Linked DNA regions of Homo sapiens: region 1 is linked to region 2. The links are contacts of gene promoters, found by promoter capture Hi-C in blood cells and fetal thymus (Javierre and others, 2016). All regions are on one chromosome and are shown on one strand. Each heading gives the region's core, a stretch centred on a gene start or on the middle of the fragment in contact. The rest is flanking DNA. Distances are from core to core; before and after follow the strand shown. Region 1 overlaps PEAK1 (pseudopodium enriched atypical kinase 1). Region 2 holds the start of LINGO1 (leucine rich repeat and Ig domain containing 1).

Region 1 (3,211 bases), core at 522-3,021, 510 kb before region 2:
AAAGTGATTTTGGATCCTAGAAGAGAAATTCAAGAAGGTAACTGTGTAAGATTTCACCATTTTATTTGTGACTTGTACTCACCAAAGCTTTTCACTCTCCCACTCAGCATGTGTATCCAATGAAAATAACTTGTGTTCCTGAGCCAGTAATTTAGGCTGACAGAATGATGCCCAGGATGTTCACACTAGAGAAACTGAGGCACAGAGTAGTCCAATAACCAGCTCAGGGCCCACATTAGGAATTCAATTAACTTGAATTCCAACTTGTGATTCTCAACTATATCCTCTCACCTCATTAATTAAAGCCATGCTCCCTTTTCCCACCAGACAACTCATTTTGATTCCAGGTTTACACAAACATCCAAAACCTCTCCTTCCTAAATCAATTCCCAGTTGAGACTCAGGTGCTTCTGTATGCACTGAGCCTGAAACAAAACGGACACAAAACTAGGATGGCCATGAGTATGTGTAGTTGGCTGCTGATCAATCACTTTCTGTAAAGTTTCACTGTTAAAAATATTTATTTTGAATTATGAAAGTGGAAGTGGTTTCCCCTCTAGTTTTTTCCTCACCACTAAGCCAGTAATTAATTGTCTGTATATATAGTCTGAACTAGTTGTAAATTCCTACCAATCATAGTTGTTCCTGTAATGCTTTTTCATTTAGTATCTTGTTTTGTCAGCATCCACCCAAATGAGATAAACGGAGACTCTGGAGTCAAAAATGCAGTAAAAGATGTTGGTCTCCACAGTTCACCTCTACATTATTACAAGCTTTTAACAAGATTCTGGCATAGCCGGAAGAAAGGAAGCAGCCCCGCTTTTGTAACAGGGAAGTGTACATCTTTACTGAGTTTTGTGTGTTCTATCCTTGAGAACAAAGACTGGGACTACTTTAAAGATACCTACTATCCCAATTCTGGAACTGTTGGAAAATAACTAAAAAATTTATACTTTTTGCTTATGTGAAATTTTTAGCATCCTCTTCAAAGTAACTGCATCCAAATTTCCTCTGTGGTCTCGCATGGTAGTACTTTTTATAAAATGATCTCATAAGTGCAATGAAAAAACAATATCTCAGTGATACTAAGCCATAATTTTGCCAACTGTCCATCCTGATTCTAAGCAAAAGGCTGTCATTTTTCCATCAAGAAACAACACTGAGACACAGCAAGGTCAGTTTACTGCTTCAGGCATGAAATAATAGGAGAGGTTCTACCTAGGAGTCAGGAGGTAGCCTGCCACGAAGATGGTGTCCCCATGCAGAAGTGATTGTTCCTCTCTGGCCTTAGTTTCCCACTGTGTAGAATGGTGAAGGCCCTTCTAAAATTGGCTTTAGTCTACTATGAGGATATGAGGGATTAGTCTACTATGGATTTAGATATGAGGATTTAGTCTACTATGAGGATATGAGGATTATGTACTTGGTCAGTGCTTACCCAGATTCTTTGAAAGGGAAAAAGCAAGGTAGATTTTTATTTAGAGAACAGGGAAGTTAAGTTCAGGCTTAAGTTTATGTTAAGTTTTACTTTGCGAGCAGGAATATTTAAGTTAACGGCAGAAGGCCAGCCAATATATAGCCCACAGAGACAGACAATGCAATCTGGGTGGTGGCTCATCAAATGGGGAAGAGAGGATAAAAGAAGATATGGATGAGATGGAAAATGGGAGTTGAAAATTAAATATTGTTTGGAAATCAATTTGGCTCTTCTTTCACCAAAACATTTATTTAAAAAGTAGGCTGTGCTCACTGCCTCCACAGCTTCCTCTTCCTATTCGCTCTTTAACTCACTGTGTCTGGCATTCACCCCAATTATTACCAACATTGCATTTTCTTGAGGCTTACAAGACATTAAATTCTTGCCTTCTTCTGAGTCTTCATTCTGCACAAGCCCTCTGCAACCTTGGACTCTCTGGCCTGTAGGGCCCTGCCTTTTGCTACAGATTTTCCAATTGCTCCTGCTTTGGGTCACTTAGATGTGTGGGCCTTTTCCCACTTTGCAGACTCTTCCATTACAATCTCATGTAGTCCCACAGTTTCAACTAAATCAAGTCTATGACCACATTTCTAGGCTTGAGCTCTCTTCTGAGTACCAAACCCATATTTTTACCTGGTTCCTGGGGTTCTTTCAACTTGGCTGCCCTATGGGCATAACCCATTGAGATCTCATCTTTCTGGCTTTTCTGATTCATATTTCAACTAATGGCATCACCATTCTCTTGGAGGTTGTTCTACCTTGAAATTTTAGCATCACTGCCCTAATCCCATACTCACCAGACATGGTCTACTGCCTTCCTCAGCTCTTTAGCCATCTGCCCCTTCTTTTCCTTTGCCTTACATCAGGTCTCATTTTACCTGGACTACTGCAATAGCATAATGACTGGCTTCCTTGCTTCCAGTCCTTCTGACCTCTCTTACCATAGTTGTCATCCAAAATCTTATGTTATTTCTGTTTAAAAATACTTAGTGGCTTCCCACAAAACACAAAATAAAGTCTAACCTCTTAAGCTCATCACTCAAATCTCTAAATTTGTTCTCTAATCTCTCCGTAGCCTAATTTTCCACTATTCTCTCAATGTACTGCATTTACCACAAAGAATAGCAAAGTGGATACAAAAGGCCCTTTCTTATTGGCCCCAAGATATGTGTTAATAACTTATTTCATTCATTAATCTTCATTTATCTTTACATCTCTGCATACCACTCTGAACTTTCATTATAATCTGTTTTAAGAGCTATTATTTATGCCTTTGTCTTTCTTACTGGAATATAAGCTTCTTGAGGGCAAGGCCTTTGTTTCATTCATATGTATTTCTGTAAACTACAACAAATATCACAATGTTTTATACAGTAAACATTTTTTGAAGGGTCAAGAAATATTTATTGAATGCCAGCTATGGACATGATATTATAATAGATGCTAAGGATATAAGAATTAATAAGCCATGGTCCCCGCCATGGAAAAGGTCAAGTATAATAGTGGGGAGAGGGGAGAGGAAGCATGTTTTTGTTTAATTATACAACTGTCTCATGATAATGCAATGATCAAGAAATCCAGTAGGTATAGCGTGCAACATGTGCTCAGAAAATTAAAGTAGAAAATTCAGAGCTGGATTCTTTAAGAATACATAGGAGCTTTCTAAGTATGTGAAAAGGAAGGAATAACCAACTTTTACTAAATGCTTAACTTTGTGCCAAATGATGCTCTCAG
Region 2 (3,432 bases), core at 410-2,909:
GGCTGGGCGAGCAGGAAGGGGCTGTCCAGATGCCACAGCCCCTACCTCAGGGCCTCCTGCACTCCCACCCGCTCAGGGCAGAGCTCTTCCCATCCTCTCAGGCCCCCTTCTGCCCCACCCCAACCCCAAGGCCTCTGAGAACAAAGAGGAGGTGCAGGCACAGTCAGGCTGGACCAGGCTGGGCTGCGACCCCAGCAGGAACCGGGAGGGGCTGCCCACTGGCCTGGCCCCACCCCTCCTTCTCAAAGTGGGATCCGCCCGGAGGGTCACATCTCCTGGCATGCCTTGAGAGCAGAGAGCCCACAGCCCACCCCGAAAAGGGTGTGAGGGGGAGCAGGAGGCTCCCTCCTTACCTCCCTCTTCTCAGCTGGTTCCCACCTCCCACCCGCTCTGCCTTAGAATGAAAAGTGGGGCAAGAGGAGGTGAGAAGCCCGGGCTGAACGCAGACAAAGGGGAGGCCCCTAAAGCGTTCCTGGGCGCTCCCGGTCCCCAACTCCCTTCCTTCCACTCTCCCTACTCCCCATCTCCTTTTCACTGGGCAGGAGCTGGAAAGGGGCGATGCTTGTGTGTGGTGGGGAGCTGCCATCCAGGCTGGAGCTTGTGGAGAAACCCAGCCCCTGACCTGTGTCCACCAGCTAGGGAGTGTCTGGTGCTGGTGGGGGCTGCCTGGGGGTACCTGGGGTCCACGAAGGGAGGTACCCACCCAGGGCTGAGCAGGGGGCTTACCCTCTAGAGTGACCAATACTCAGAATGGGAGGGGGGACAGGAAGGGGAGACCAGAGCAGGTCTGGGACACCCGTGGGGGCCCCTCCCCAGCTCCAGGCTCCCAGCTTACAAACCCGGAATTTGTTGGGGTTGGAGAGAGGGGAGGTGGAAAAGGAAGAATTTTCATTTCTGAGGCTTGAGGGGAAATCAGGCCTATGACCCCAAAGGAGGTCTGGGTGGCACCGAGGTGCCCTGCAACCCCAGGAGGGCGCAGCCAGGGCCGATGGCGGCCCCCAGGGGCACTCGCCGCGGGGCTGCCCGCTCGGGGCTCGGCCGCGGCCGCCTGGCTCACCTGCATCTCGGGCGCGCCTTCGGTCCGCTCGGCTCGGTCACCAATCGCATGTCTCTCCAGCCGGCCCGACCAGGCCCCAGCCCCTGCCCAGCCCCCTCCTCCGTTTCCTCCTCCTCCGACACCTCCGCCCGGCAGTCCGCGCGCCCTCGCGGGGCTGGCTGTCCGTCTGTCCGCCCCGCGCGGGCGGGAGCCGAGCCGGAGCCGGGGCCGGGGCTCGGGAGTGGGGAGGCGGGAGGCCGCGGCCCCGGCGGGCGGATGGGCGGGCGCGCTCAGGCCGCGGGACAGGGGCTGCGCGAGCCTGCTTCTGCCCCCTGGGCCGGCCCGGAGCCGCCGCCGCCGCCTCTGCCGCTGGGGCCGGGGTCGAGGCCGGGCGCGCTCCGCCGCGGGGCCGGGGCCGGCGGGCAGCGGCCGCGCATGCTGCTCGGCGCCCCGCGTCGGGAGAGGGGCCGGAGCGGCGCGGGTGGGGACTCCGCGCCCTCCGGGGCCGGGACCAGGACCCACCGCCGCCGCCGCCGCCTGCGCTGTCGCCCGCCGCCCGCTCCGGCTCCCGCGCCGGCTCCCGCTCGGGCTCCGCGCTCTGCAGCGGCGCGGGGAGGGAGCACTAGGAGCGAGCCAGGGAGGGAGGAGGGATCGAGGGAGGAGGGAGCGAGTGAGCCGCGGGAGCCGGGCGGGGGAGGAGAAGGCGCGGCCGCAAAACCTGGTGATGGTGGTGGTGGGGTGGGGGGTGGTTCGTCTCCTTTCAGCGGAGGGGGCGGAGAGCGAGGGGCGCCCCAGCCGCTGCCCTGCACGCTTAGGGCAGCGAAACAGGCAGGGGTGCGCAGGCGAGGGGCGCACCAGCCAGGCGCTCCAGCTCTGCACACGGCCGCGCCCCTCCGGGTCCGGGGCTCTGGGCGAGTCCCGGGCCAGCCGGGTGTCGGGGAGTCCGGCGTGCGGTCCTCCCTGGGTGTATGCGCGCACACCGTTGTGTGTGATTTTTGTGTTGCCACATGCGTGTGCATGTGAGCGCGCGAGTGTGTTTACACGTGTTAACTGGGCTGTGGACGAACACACGCACGAGGACGGACAGGGCTCCCTACACGAACAGGGTTGTTTGGAGGGCGGCATGGGGAGGCCGACCGGGAGCCCCCGTCCTGGCCCTGTCCCCTCCTCTCGAAAGTCCGCGAGGCTAGAGGGCCCACATTCTAGCGCGGGAGGGCGAGGCAGGCAGAATGGGAAGCTCCAGGGGACGGCGAGGAAGCCGCGCTGGCCCGGCAGCTCTACCCAGGAGCCGGGGTCCCCGCCCAGCCTGGCTTCCTGTCCAGCAGAGGGCGGCAGGCCTCTCTGGCCCGCTCCGTCCGGAGGCCCTGCACCCAGTGGCCAGCAGAGGGCAGCGCAGAGCCTCCGCCTGGGCTTGACTGTTCCCTCCTCCCGGAATGGTCCCGGGGATCCTCGGCTGGGGCCACAACTTCAGACGGGCCCAAGGAATGGGACCTCTCCTCGGAGATCCAGATCCTCCTTGATCCTCAGATACAGAAACTAGGCCAGCAGGGATGTCTTGGCAAAGCCTGCAGAGTAGGTTACCACCCTCAGGACCTCACCTTTTTCCCTATACTACCCCCTCCATCTCCTTGAAGCCAGACGCCCTTTACCACCAAGCCAGTTTTATTAGAATAACCATCAATGCTGACACCGCCCGGCACGGCCATCCCTCCTCCCCTGCTGGGAACAACCCATTAGCACATGAATACTCCTAATAGCTTGAGTCCACAGGGGCAGCTGAGGCTGGGGGAGGGGATCTAGCCCAAAGCCTCTCGGATTCTGGGGCAGACGCTGGAATCCCAGTTCCAGTGACACCCCCTCTCCCAGGAAGCCTGCGCAACATCATTGCAGAGATGCCTGGTTGCCACGGAGGGACCTCTCCCCACCCCCAACAGCACCTTGTTTCTCGCTGTTCAGCCTCACACACAGCCCAAAGGCTTGCACAGACCTTCTGTTCCAGCTGCACCATTTCTGGGTACTTCTCAGTCTCTCTGGCACACCGTTGCTCTGGACAGTCCTGTCTGGAGCACTTTCTCCTGTCTCCTATGTCTATGCCCATCCTCAACCTAGGCCTAGCTAGAGTCCCTCCTAGCAGGCGTCCATGCTATGCTCTACTGTGAACTGTACGTTCACCCTCCAGCAACTCTGGGGGAGGCACTATTGTTCCCCTGTGACAGAGGGAGGGAAGCCCAGGCCCAGAGAGGTTCCAGGCTCTGCCCATGGTCACACAGCCAGCAAGCCACGGAAAGGGAACTGGACTCGTCTTCTATGGCTGAATGGACCAGCAGGGGGCAGGCTCGGCAGAAGGACTTACAGGTGGGAGGTGAAGCAGGGAGGCCAGCACAGGAGTCCCCCTC

The links. The method cuts DNA at HindIII sites, captures the fragments that hold promoters and counts their contacts. A CHiCAGO score of 5 or more calls a contact.
Region 1: a fragment that was not itself captured here is called in contact with the fragment with the promoter of LINGO1 in region 2 in 1 of 17 cell types (endothelial precursors); the score reaches 5.7 in endothelial precursors.

Annotation. Positions count from the first base shown.
Region 1 is chr15:77,122,265-77,125,475 of GRCh38, forward strand. The region is part of intron 9 of PEAK1 (pseudopodium enriched atypical kinase 1); the gene reads right to left. Among named protein-coding and RNA genes, the nearest start is that of TSPAN3, 53 kb to the left of the region's middle. The HindIII fragment of the contact is 2,001 bases long and covers 772-2,772 here.
Region 2 is chr15:77,631,253-77,634,684 of GRCh38, forward strand. It overlaps LINGO1 (leucine rich repeat and Ig domain containing 1), which reads right to left and starts at 1,660. Exons shown (of 2, transcript NM_032808.7): 1 at 1,058-1,660. The coding sequence starts at 1,063. RefSeq lists enhancers at 2,479-3,042, 2,484-2,613. The HindIII fragment of the contact is 14,548 bases long and covers 1-3,432 here.